Regions from separate parts of the Homo sapiens genome. Here region 1 is linked to region 2. Evidence: promoter capture Hi-C in 16 types of primary human blood cells and fetal thymus (Javierre and others, 2016). All regions are on one chromosome and are shown on one strand. Each heading gives the region's core, a stretch centred on a gene start or on the middle of the fragment in contact. The rest is flanking DNA. Distances are from core to core; before and after follow the strand shown.

The links. The method cuts DNA at HindIII sites, captures the fragments that hold promoters and counts their contacts. A CHiCAGO score of 5 or more calls a contact.
Region 1: a fragment that was not itself captured here is called in contact with the fragment with the promoter of QRFPR in region 2 in 2 of 17 cell types (M1 macrophages and M2 macrophages); the score reaches 7.2 in M1 macrophages.

The regions. Positions count from the first base shown.
Region 1 is chr4:121,732,565-121,739,471 of GRCh38, reverse strand. No RefSeq gene overlaps it. Among named protein-coding and RNA genes, the nearest start is that of PP12613, 29 kb to the left of the region's middle. The HindIII fragment of the contact is 1,543 bases long and covers 2,530-4,072 here.
Region 2 is chr4:121,375,836-121,382,616 of GRCh38, reverse strand. It overlaps QRFPR (pyroglutamylated RFamide peptide receptor), which reads left to right and starts at 1,599. Exons shown (of 6, transcript NM_198179.3): 1 at 1,599-2,309. The coding sequence starts at 1,970. RefSeq lists an enhancer at 1,029-1,813. The HindIII fragment of the contact is 7,115 bases long and covers 1-2,614 here.

The sequences.
Region 1 (6,907 bases), core at 2,052-4,551, 360 kb before region 2:
GACTCCTCTCCTCACCCCAGCCCACTCTGTCTGCTTTTTGAAAAGAGGACCATTTGCCAGCCAGCCCCTAAACTTGTGGTTCTCACCCTGTTCTCCATGATTCCTCCACATTCCTTGCAGCTTTGACGCAAAACTGCCTTCACCAGCTGTGGCTTCTCAGAACCCACACAGAGGAAGGGAGGACATTTGGACAACAGATTTTCTAACAGCTGAAATAATCAATCAGTACTACATTTTGTCTCTGTGCCAGCTATTTCTCTGAATTAAACTGCATTATTTTATCTAATGCCTGCCCAGGATGCCTGTCTTACATGAATTTCACTTTTTTTCTCTCATTTTATTTGCAACTGAAATGATCTCACAATGATTGATTCCATTCTCTAGTATATGAATTTCTCTCACTCTCTGTTGGCTAGCTCTACTCTATTAGAGAGGCAGTGCTTAGATACTGGAGCCAGGCTGTTGCATTTAAATCCTAGATTGATCACGTGACTGCCTCTCTGTGCCTCAGTTTCCCCATCTGAAAAGGCAGATAATAATACTTGAGAAACACCTTGAACATATGTGACCATATGTGATGTATAGTTACTGATCATGTTACCTAGTGTTTCTGCTAGGTAAAGTAGTCTTCATCACTGCATTCTTACTTTTTTGTCCCATTTCACAATATCTTCTTTTGTTTGACACAGTATTCCTCTCCTTTTGCTAAAATTTTAAATTCATTAGATGTATTATGAATTAACCTTTACTTTGATAATCTATATAGATATCTGAAGTCATGGTATTGTTCCTAATCCACTTCCTTGTTTCTGCCAAGACTTATTAGTCTGCTCCTATGCTATTGTTCTTCCCATGTGATTCCTGGTATTCTTCATATGTGTACAGTTGTATCTGGGCATTTTTTCCTTCCCTGCAAATGTCAGGTTGGCACTTTTCTGCCGAATGTATTCTTTCCAGCTTATGCAAAAATAGTCCAGCCTCCACAAGAGTCCACTGTTCCAGAAATCCAAATTCACCCCTATCCATAAAGAAAGCCGGCTGGTTACTTCTCACATCCTCTTTAATCTTGCAAAGTCACAGACTTCTCTTGGAATGAAAGATGAAAACACACCCCATGCCCTGAGGTCCTTCAGCCTCCTGCTCAGAATTTCAGAATGCACACAGAGACATTTTGGAGAGTTCTGACTATATTCAGTAGGCTCAGATGAACCATTAAAAGTTAGTAGTAGTAGTAGGATTTGATCAATGTCAGCAGACTTTTTGACCTAACTAAAACATAATCAAGAGCCAAAAATCTATGAACACAGAGATAACGAGCATCTGAGTAGTTGAGAGGAGAGAGAAGCAATGCCAGGATCTAAATATTTCCAGCGCGAGCCCTCTGATGTTCATGGGGCCTGGAGGGTTCCACATTCATTATGTGTGTGAGGTTTCTGCCCAGCAAGGCTGCTGACATGAGGCAAAGCAGAGCCCTGGCGAGGATGTTTCTGGGGTCACCGCACATCTGCCTTCTCCAGCGTGTGTTCTGTGATGGACAGTAAAGGGTGAGACGGAATTGAAATGTTTTTCACATTCATTATACTTACACGTTTTCTTCTGTGTAGAGAGTCTCTGAATTATGATACATTTTTTTCAAAGCTATAATCCAAACTGGATTCTTTCTCTTGTAGGAATTTTATGACGTATAACAAGATCTGAGCTGCTCTCCATATTTGTTAAATTGCATTAACTTCATAGCCTCACTGATTTTTTTTTTCCTTTTTTTTTTTTTTTTTTTTGAGACGAGTCTCGCTCTGTTGCCCAGGTTGGAGTGCAGTGGCGCGATCTCGGCTCACTGCAGCCTCCACCTCCCGGGTTCAAGCGATTCTCCTGCCTCAGCCTCCCAAGTAGCTGGGACTACTACAGATGTGTGCCACCACATCTAGCTAATTTTTTGTATTTTTAGTAGAGATGGGGTTTCACCATGTAAGCCAGCATGGTCTTGATCTCCTGACCTCATGATCCACCTGCCTCAGCCTCCCAAAGTGCTGGGATTATAGGCGTGCACCACCACACCCAGCCTGTTTATTTTCTTACGTGAAACATCTGTACTAGAAGAGGGAATCTGCCTTTGGATATTCATCTCACCTCTCAGATCTGTGCTCAAACATCACAATTCTCCTTAAAAACAGGTTCTTGGGTAGTCTTTTGATTGTGTCCACTGGCACGCCCATTCATCTTGGATTAATGATAATAAAAGTGTGTAATTATATTAGATGTCTACCACATGGCAGGCCCTATGTTGATGTGAATTTAGCTCACTGAAGCCTGACCACAGCTCTGAGGAAGGTGCTATTATGCCGGCATCATTTTCCCTACAACTCCCTTTCTTTTCACACTTTGCACCCACAGCCCATGGTGTTGCCTATTAGCCCCCAGCCTTGGGCCCTTGAATCCAAGGTTAAGGGCTTGTGACCAGAGGACTCTGCAGCCTGAATTTGGGGAACACACTATCAGCCTGATCTGAACTCTTTATTCAGCATCTAAGCTTTTATGGCCACCAGGTGGGAGTATTGGGATTGGAAAGAACTGTCCAGAGACAATATCCAATGTGATTATGAACAAATCCACCTCCATACAGGTCACTTGTGATTTTAACGGGTGAAAATGCTTCGCAAAATCAAATCTAAACTTCTTTTGTAAAAGCACGTCTTAGCTATTTAATGACATCACAGTATCATGGGCATATCCACAAATTCTGCAAGTGGATCACTGGGAATGAGCATAAACAGGGTCATTTCTCCTTCCACCCCTTGATTCCAGGACCTGTGTATTCTGCCTACTGGGGACACAGCACCATATCAAATTCATTAGGTGGAGAGTGTTTACTGCATTCTGGAGGATGATGCTGTATCTTCCCACTGCTTTAGGTAGTGAAATGTGCTAATGAGAACATATAAAGCAGGGAAGAGCATAGGAAGTACAGGGGAGAATGACTAAAATTTTAGATAGGGTGGCCAGGGCTGGCCTCATTCAGAAGGTGACATTAGAATAAAGACCTAACAAAGAGAGAGAAATCTGGGGTAAGATCATTCCAGGCAACGTGAACAGAAACTGCAAAGACCCTGCGGTTCCTGGCATGTTTGATGAATAGCGAAGTGTTCAGTACGCCAAGGATGGAGTGAGGGAAGGGCAGAGTACTCGTAGAAGATGAGATCAGGTTGGTGACAGACAACCATATCAAGTAGGGTCTTAGAGGTCACTGTAAAATGTTTGCTTTTACTCTGAATTGAGAATCCATTGGGAAGTTTTGAGGAGAGAAGTGATATGATAGGACTTGTGCTTTAACAGAATCTTGATGGCATTATGTTGAGGATACACTGAATAGGGAAGGAGGAAGTTAATATACAAGTTGTGAGGCTGTTGCACAATGAGGCAAGAGATGATGATGGTTGAACTAAGATGGTGATAGTGGAGGTGGTGAGACTCACAAATCCAGAGCTTCCAGAGGTATCACTTACTATATGTTTAATGTCAGAGGGGCCTCTTGGAATTGTATAATGTGGCAGTACTGGGTAAGTCAAATTCTGGTTAGATTTTTTTTCTTTTAATATGGAGTCTTGCTCTGTTACCCAGGCTGGAGTGCAGTGCATGATCTCAGCTGACTACAACCTCTGCCTTCTGGGTTCAAGTGACTCTCCTGCCTCAGCCTTGCAAGTAGCTGAAACCACAAGTGCCCACCTCCATGCCCGGCTAATTTTTGTATTTGTAGTAGAGATAGAGTTTCACCATGTTGGCCAGGCTTGTCTCAAACTCCTAACCTCAAGTGATCTGCCCGCCTCGGCCTCCCAAAGTGCTGGGATTACAGGCGTGAGCCACCATACCCTACCCTCAGCTACATTTTGAGGCAGAGACAATCACATTTGCTGATGCAGAATGTGAAAGGAAGAGAGGTGTCAAAGATGACTCCAAGGTTTCTGGCCTGAGCCACTGGGAAGTTGAGGTTGCCATCAATTGAGATGGAGAAGACAATAAAAGGAGCAGACTGGGGGTGGAAGCAATAATAGAAACTCAGTTGTGGAAGCATTAAGCTTGAGTTCAGAATTCTACATTTGGGAGTCATTAACATATAGATGGCATTTGAAGCCATGAGAATGAATGAGACTGCTTAGCAAGTGAGGGTGGTGAGAATAAATGAGATAACCTAAAAAGTGAGTATGGGAAGGGGAAAAAAGATGCCAAGGACTAACCCTAATGCACTGCAACGTTCAGAGTGTGAGCAAATGGAGAGGACCCAGCAAAAGAGGTGAGGCAGGAGGTCAGAGAGGTGGGAATAAAGCAGGCCAGAGAGCTATCCTGGAAGCCAAGTGAAAGAAGTGCTTAAAGAAGAGACACAGAAGGAATGAGGTAGCCCGGCATAAGGTCTTAGAAATTTTTACAAGAGTTGCTTCCCTGGGCTGTTTGAATCAGATCCACATTCATCAACATTTAAGCTGATGCCAGTGGAGTATTAGAGAACACTCACCCTTGCAGCCCCCTGAATTTGGACAATAAAGTTCCAGCTTATCATTTGCAAGGACAGTCTGGTATTCTAGAGGAGGGACTACTGGGATAGAATACATTTCAAAGCATTCTATCATGGTTATAGTTCTTTCATTTCTAACTTTCTTAAAACACCTATTTTAACAAGTTGTTTTGGGCTCTTGCCTGGAAAGCTAAAAAAAGCGAGAAGCTGTCTGTTGCCTTAAGCTCCACAGCCTAGCACAGTACATGAGAAGAATGTGTGAATATACATTGCTATACATTGCTGGATTCATGATGTGGCACTGCTGAAGCCATGCTCAGAGGCAGCAGCAAAGAAAAAAACCCTGCAAATTCCATTTATTACCAATTGACTTTGAGAACCTGAATACTTTTCAGTTTTCTTAAATGAGACTTGAAGAGAGGGAAGTGTCACTAGGAATTATAAAACATAATTATTTTTGAAAGACAAAAACATTGAAATATGTTGCTATTAGTCACTTCAAGTAGAAATGTGAAAATCATTGCACTAGTCTGTTTCCTGTTGCTTAGAATACTTGAAGCTGGGTAATTTATAAAGAAGGAAATTTATTTCTTGAAGTTGGGTAATTTATAAAGAAGGAAATTTATTTCTTGAAGTTCTGGAGGCTGAGAAGTCCAAGGTTGAGGGGCTGCATCTGGTGAGGGCCTTCTTGCTGGTGGGGACTCTCTGCAGAGTCTTGAGGCAGCACGGGGCATCACATGGTGAGGGGGCTGAGCATGCTAACATGCTAACTCAGGTCTTTCCTCTTCTTATAAAGCCACTAGTTCCCCATCCCTGATAATCCATTAACCTATCAATGGATTAATAATTCATTCATGAGGGCAGAGCCCTTATGATTCAATCACCTCTTAATGGCCCCAACTTTCAATACTGCCACTTTGGGGATTAAGTTTCAACATGAGTTTTGGAGGGGACACTCAAATCATAGCAATCATTTTTTTAAAATGTAGCAAAAAACTACCCTTCTTGGTTTTAAAAAAAAGTAAGAATAAAATATTTGAAGAGAATATGGGTCAGTCCTCTTTTCAAATACTTCCTCCTGAATTGCAGTATCTTTAACAAATTCTATGTGATTTTGCTCATCTCAAACATATTTTAAGATCGGAGAAATATGGAAAAGGATTTAAGTAAATGAATATCCAAAGCAGTTTAAAGTAATTAAAATTTTCCTTTTCTATAAGAAAAATGTTTTTAAAATGTTTAATCTGTTCATTTCAAATTTAAATGTTATTCACGGAAAAGCTACTAAAAATTTTGTACCTCTGAGCAAATTTCTTTTTAAAGAAAACAAAAATTTTTGTTTTTTTACTTTTGAAAATCTCACTATGAATAAGCAACATTGTTAAGTAACTATCATTTATTTCTAGCATATTTTGGTTACACAGATTTATTTTATTTTCTTGAGACAGAGTCTCGCTGTGTGGCCCAGACTGGAGTGCAGCGGCACAATCTTGGCTCACTGCAACCTCCAGCTCCCGGGTTCAAGTGATCCTCCTGCCTCAGCCTCTTGAGTAGCTGCAAACATAGGCATGTGCCACCATGCCTGGCTAATTTTTGTATTTTTAGTAGAGACGGAGTTTCACCATTTTGGCCAGGCTGGTCTTGAACTTGTGACCACAAGTGATCAGCCCACTTCAGCTCACCAAAGTGCTGGGATTACAGGTGTGAGCTATCTCGGCTGGCCTGGTCACACAGATATTTATGAAAATTAATTGTAATTAATTTCTTTAAACCGTGAGTTTAAACATTGTCAGAAATAATTCGATGTTCCTAGGTTACTGCTGTAACCTGCATACTGCAGTATAGGAATCCCAAATTCCTTAGCAAGCTCCACGCGTCTCGGTGAGTCAATGGATTGAAACATAGATCCTTCTCTTTCACGTCTGTGGTCTATGGGAGAAAAGGGACCCTGCTCCATGACCCCCTGAGAAACCACTTGGGGGTGACATCTCACAGCTGCCTGAGTACCCTGACAAAGGCACAGACTGTGATTCAGAAAATGTGAATCCCTCACAGCGCTGTTTCTTTGGCCCTGAGGCAGCTCTACAGGGTCCTGGGCCTCTTCCCTCCTTGTGAAAACAGTTTTTTCACCTGCTGCTTGAAGCTTCTTTTTCCACAGCAGGATTTTTCCAAACCTGAGCAATGCATTATGAAATCAATTTAACAGCTGAAAGGGAGAGTCATTAATAATTGTAGGGGATAACAGCATCAACTAGGACTGTGCTGGGCAAACCAGCACATACGGTCACCCACTAATTCAACACTAGCATTAGAGAAAATTTAATGGAATAAAATAGAATCAGAACAGAAAATACGAGTGGGTCACACAGAGAAAGTGTAAATAGTGTTTTGTGAAACTTTTCC
Region 2 (6,781 bases), core at 350-2,849:
CTACCTGATTTCAAAACTTATTATATAGCTACAGTAGTCAAGAATGTGGAGGATAGACACATAGATCAATTCAACAGAATAGAGAGCCCAAAACATAAAATGTAAAACTATAACACTTTTAGAAAAATACCTAAGAGAAAGTTTTTGAGAAATAGGCTTTGGTGAAGTTAGACTGAACACTAAAAGCTATCTATAAAAGAAAATATTGATAAATATGACTTCACTAAAACTAAAAGCTGTTCTGTGAAAGTCCCTGTTAAGAAGATAAATAACAAGCTACAGACTGGAAGAACATATTTGCAAACCGTTTACTAACAAAGGACTTGTATGTAGAATATAAAAAGAACTTTCAACAGCAAATAAACTAAACCATGCAATTAGAAACGGACAAAACACATGGAAAGACATTTCACCAAAGAAGATTCAAGGACGGCAAATAAGCACATGAGATGTTCAATATTACTTGCCATTAGGTAAATGTAAATTAAGGCCCTAAAGAGATATCACTACAGATCTATTAGAATAGCTTAAAAAAAAAAAGCAGCAAAACCAAATGCTGGCAAGGATGTGGAGAAACGTAACTTCTCATGCATTGATGGTAGAGATGGAGACTTGTACAGCCACTCTGAAAAGTAGTCAATCTCTTTAAAAATTAAATATACACATTACAGATTCAATAATCAAAACTTTTGGCATTTCCTATAGAAAGGAAAACTATGTTCACACAAAAACCTGTACATGATTCTTTATAGCAGCTTTATTTTTAATAGCTCAAAATGGTAATCAACCAAAATGTTCTACAAGAGGTGGATGGTTAAATAAACGGTGATACAGCCTCAGCAATAAAAAGAAACAGCCATTAATACATGCAACAACTTGGATGGATTTAAAGGGCATTAGGCTGAGCGAAGAAAATTCAATATCAAAAGGCAGCATATTGTATGATTTCCCTTACGTAATGTTCTGACAAAAGTTAAGAGAGAACATATTAGTGGTTGCCAGGAGTTAGAGATGGTGGAGGGAGGGGCTAGGTGTGAGTATAAAAAGCACCAGGGAGATTTTTGTGGTGATAGAAGAGTTTGTATCCTGACGGTTACGGGAATCTACACTTGAGATAAAAACATGCAAACACTGTACCTGTGTCAAATTCCTGGTTTTGTATTGTTCCGTAGTTAAATAAGATGTAATGAATGAAAGAAACTGGGTGAAGGGTGGGTACGCAGGATCTTTCTGTATTATCTTTGCCATTTCCCAAGTTCTATATTTTAACTATCTTAATTATTTTTCAATACAGAAAATAATTTAAAATAAGCCCTATTTGCCTTGGGTAGTTGTGGCTCCCATTATTACGCAAGAGGAGAAACTTGAAACTGTGGAACCCCCCAATACCCAGTTTCACATACAAGCATTACCTGACTGGGGCCATGCCCTGAGAAAGGCGCTGGGCGGCAGCAAGTTGGTGAGCCAGGGAAGTCTTCCCTCGCCCTGAGGGTGCGGGGAAGCGGCGTTGGCGCCACTGAAGCTGGGTGTGAGGGAGGCGTCACCGAGTTCAGCCCCACCCTCCACCGCTCCCCAAGCGGGTCCGGCGTCCGCATCGCATGGCCAGAAGGCGGGGAGCCAGAGGCGCCAGGACCCTCGCGTGGCGCTCCAGCACCCCAGACCGTGGCGGCGCCTCGCCTTAGGGAAGAGCAAGGGAAGAACTTTATTTGAACCGCGAACATTTTTTGGTCACTGAGATCGAGTCTCCCAGTGCTTTGGCTTCCCGCCTCTTTATCGTGGGTTTGATCCCTGAGCTGCTCTCCTTTCCCGAACCTCCCGGGGTGCAGCCTAGAGCCCTCCCGCGCGGCTGACTCCAGAGTAGAGGAAGGGAGGCGGCCTCCGGCTGGTCCCCCGAAGCCCTCGCTGCCCCGCAGATGCGGATGGCCAGCCAGTAGCGGGCGGTGGCCCCGCGTCCCGGGAGCGCACAGCAATGCAGGCGCTTAACATTACCCCGGAGCAGTTCTCTCGGCTGCTGCGGGACCACAACCTGACGCGGGAGCAGTTCATCGCTCTGTACCGGCTGCGACCGCTCGTCTACACCCCAGAGCTGCCGGGACGCGCCAAGCTGGCCCTCGTGCTCACCGGCGTGCTCATCTTCGCCCTGGCGCTCTTTGGCAATGCTCTGGTGTTCTACGTGGTGACCCGCAGCAAGGCCATGCGCACCGTCACCAACATCTTTATCTGCTCCTTGGCGCTCAGTGACCTGCTCATCACCTTCTTCTGCATTCCCGTCACCATGCTCCAGAACATTTCCGACAACTGGCTGGGGGGTAAGAGTCGCGCCCCGCTCCTTCGCTCCTTCTCTCTTAACCCTCTGCCTTTCAGGGGATCTCTCTCTCTCTCTCTCTCTCTCTCTCTCTCTCTCTCTCTCTCTCTCTCTCTCTCTCTCTCCTCTCTCGTCTGTCTGTCTCTCTCTCGTCTGTCTCTTCCTTACACTTCTCTGTCAAATGAATCCGGTGCTCTTTCTTAGAACTTCGCCACCTGTGTTCACCTGGACATAAGTTCTTTTGGCCGCCTCTGATTCCCCTCCAGTGCTTCCTCCTTGTGGCTTAGAGACATAGGTTGGGGAAAAGCTTCGGAAAGGTCCCGAGCAGTGAGGCAGGAAGTCGCACCCCTCGCCACTTATTTCAGCTCCCTTTCCCGTCATTACCAGGTTTTTCTCCCCTAGTTTTCTTACTAAAAGTGAGATAAAAATATTTCAAATAATTAAACCAAAGTTAAAAATCTCATTTCCTCATTCCCCCACCCTCCAGCCTCACTTCCCAGTTGCTTGCAGACAGCTTCTTGTACCTATGAGCATAAAACAAATATAATTCATGTGCAGAAAAAATATATTGAACTAGTCCTTTTAAAAACTGTATTAAGTGTCATGCAGGAAGAAGGAACACAGAAAACTGATGCCCTCCTATTATAAAAGAAGAGATAACATTCTCCTCCTTCCGTATAATGGGGGAAAAAAAATGACAGAGGAGAGGTGGAGTCACTGAGTTGGGAGCAGTGTGTGGAGGTTGGAAAAAAAGATATATTTCTTGAGATGATCCAGCTTTTCCAAGAACACAGCTGGAGAATGCCCTGGTGTAAACCCAGGAGCAGTAGTGTGTTGTATTCTCACCAGTGCTTAAGGTGCACCATGGGCCTCCCCTTTTTCACGGTTGGGTGTATTCTTGTGGCCACATCAAAATGGTTAGAAATGTAAGAGAAATAGATCATTATGCCTTCAATCTCTGCTATTTCTATCCCATTACTAATTCTCTTAAACTCATGGAGGGTGTTTCATCCTACCATTACCAATTTGAGATCGTGAGCATTGCTTTTTTTCTCATTAGCTTAAACTGAGTTTGCTGTTAGTCAGTCAGAATGTTAAAGTCCTTGATTCTTATCAATCTATAATGTAAATATTTTCAAAAAAGCATTAAACATTGAGTACAGAGCATTGACTTGAAAGTAATACACAATGTGGAAAGTAAGACCTTGATTTATGGATTAGAGACTTTCTTATGCACTCTGATGCAGTAATTGTATTTGGGCATTTTAAAGTTGCTCAGTGCAACTAACTCCATAAAATTAATGGGGTATTTTTTGATCATCATACGGAACTTGGTTTTTGGGGAAAAGCACATGAGTTTTCATTTCTAAATGTTTGTGAAAGCAGATTTATGAGGCTTCTTTGTGCTGGGGATGATTATAGCTCCATTTGTAAAGGTGAAAATAATTATGCAAAGTGGGATTTTATGGTGGGGATCAAAAGAACTGGATTACTATTTTGGCTGTAATACATGTTAATTTAGTATGTCTGGGTCTCAATTTTTCAGTAAAATATTAGGGATTAGAGAAGTTTGAAAGTGCAGTGAGTCTGGCCAGGCGTGGTGGCTCACGCCTGTAATCCCAACACTTTGGGAGGCCGAGGCGGGCGGATCACGAGGTCATGAGATCGAGACCATTCTGGCTAACACGGTGAAACCCCGTCTCTACTAAAAATACAAACAACAACAAAAAATTAGCCGGGCATCGTGGCACGCACCTATAGTCCCAGCTGCTCAGGAGGTTGAGGCAGGAGACTTGGCTTGACCCCGGGAGGCAGAGGTTGTAGTGAGCCGAGATCACGCTACTGCACTCCAACCTGGGTGACAGAGCAAGACTCCGTCTCAAAAAAAAAAAAAAAAAAAAAAAGTGCAGTGAGCCAGATCTTTAGCTCCAGTTCATGTTGGGGAATCATGGCCAAGAAAGGCCATATGGTGCATCTTCCATCCTCAGGGCTTATTTGGGCACTGCCAAGGTTTTTCTCAAGTTTTCTTTTCTCCCTGCTTCTTACTTCATGGAGAACATTTCACTTTAGCTTCTAAATACTGAAGGAGAGTAATATATTGCTCATTTATTTTATAGGGTTAGTGTGAGAATAAAGTGTGTTAGTAAAAGTGCTTTGAAAAATATTGGTCATGCCATGAAAGTATAAGGTATTAATTCTATTAAGGGGTGTTTAATTGGAGGTGGCCTATGTTTATCTGGGACCAGATTTATAGAATAAATAATGATCTTATAAATTGAGTAAATAATACCAAAATTGAAGTGCGAGGGAGAGGTGAGAGCATGCAGAGGGGCTAGAGATCAATATGAAAATAGAATTAACTTGCGCATTATAGGACAGGATAATCATGGCAAAATTTCCTTGATAAATTAACCAAAGTTCAAGAGAATGTAATCTAAGAGCCAAAAATTAATTCATAATTTATTATTTTACAAAGCTATTGAGGATCTCCTATCTGGAAAAGTGTTCTACCTTGAGAGTACAAAAGTGAGTAAAGTCTATCTGTGCCCTTCAGGACCTCAGAGAATAGGAGATGGCCCCAAAATGAGCAAAAACAGGATTTGATAGAAAAAGGATCCACTTTGCTCTACGAGCACAGAAGAGTCAGGAAGGCTTCCTGAAGGATGTGATGTTCAAGCTGGGTCTGGAAGAATAATTCAGAGAATAATTTAGACTCTTTCCAGCAGAGGATGGAGTGTGTTCTAGGAATAGGGGTCAGTGCCAAGTTGGAGGGAAGAAAGAAGATGGTGTGTTCCAAGAATACCGTGCAAGGCATTGCAAGAATGCACAGGTTATATGTGGGGAATGGCAGGAAATGAGACAGAAAAGTAGTGCAACTGGGGAGGAAAAAAAAAAAAATATATATATATATAGTTATGTAAAAACCTAAAATATGAATACCCCTCAAATTCCTTCAGGGGTGAGGTAGGAAACACAAACAAAGCAATGAAGATCACCAGGAAGCAACGGCGACAAAAGGAAGACTGTCTCCTCTAAAGGGGGCAGGATTGCAGCATGCTGGAGTGGTGCCCAGGATTGTCACATCTTCTTTTGTTGTTGTTCTTGCTTCCCCACCTCTCCTTCTGAAAAGCTGGGAATACAGATTTTTATGATGCTGACTTCTAAGTCAAATACAAAAAGTAAAATGCAATCAGGTAAAAGAAAACATCTCTATGGCTTGGTCAGAAATAATTCATGGACTTCCAGTTTGTCACATCTCTACATTGCCTGTCTCTCAAATATTTCTGACAATGCTAAGACTGTGAATGACTGTTTTATTCTTCTTTCAGTCCATTCCTCTTTCTTGCTGGGGACCAGCAGCACCTATTGAGTCAAAACCTGCTTTTTAACAAGGTTCTCAATTGTTTCACGTGCACATTAAAGTTTGATAAGCACTAGAGAAGTCAGCTCAGGTCTTTATAAGGAAAAAAAAAAGTTTGTTAAGTACTACTTGAAGTAGTAATGGCTCTTAGACCTGGCTACACAGAGAATCTCCTGAAGGGCTTTTGAAAATGGCCTGCGCCAGCCCCAGCCCAAACCAGTTACACTTGTCTCTTTGGAGCCAGCCACACTGCCTTACAGAGCCCAGTGTGCACAACTCTACTCAGGTCCCCTTTCAGGGACATCATGTTGTTATCTTAAAACTGGTTGTGGTGGGAGTATTCACATCATGGAAATCAGCACTTACTAGTTAGGCCTGTTTTTTAAAAAAGTGAAAAAAAAAAAAAACAAACCCAGAAATCAAACAGTTGCTTTCCCAGCACACCACTGAGCAAAGACATTGAGTTTTCTTTTGTACACTGCTGGGACCATGAATAATAGGTGAGGCAAAGTGTAGCCACAAACATGTTTTTACATGAATTACACTAAAGTTGGAAAGAGATACAGCTGATCCACAGCATCTAAGTGTGCCCAGCATGGAGGCAAGCTGACATTCAATTCCTTTCATCCACCTTACCATCATTGCCTTATTGGCTTACCTTTGATCTACCAGTTGACTCACTCTCTACTCCCCAGGACTCCTTCCAACATGGAGCTAGCAGAAGTGGCGATTCTCTGCACCCAAATATTATAAATGGCACATGTTTATGAGTTTTTTGTTACTCATATGAGGGTGGAGTTGCTCTGCCATGGCCCTTTCCTTTAGGAAAGTTTTGTCTCTGTTCTCTTCTCTGATTTACTGGGCTAGACTGCAGAAGTGGATTTGTCCATTGCCTCCTTAGGGCCACCAAATTTACCTGTCCTTATCTGCAGCCTGTTCCTCCTCATTTTGTTTTGTTTTTTCCTCCTTTTTATCTTTTTCTTCACAATGTCCAAATGCTCCTCCAAATTCACTCACTGAACATGTTCTGTTTCTTCCAGCTAAATACAGAACTGATTTTGCTTGTGACCAGTGCTGCAGAACACCACTCTCTTCTCTAAGTTTCCATGAACTAG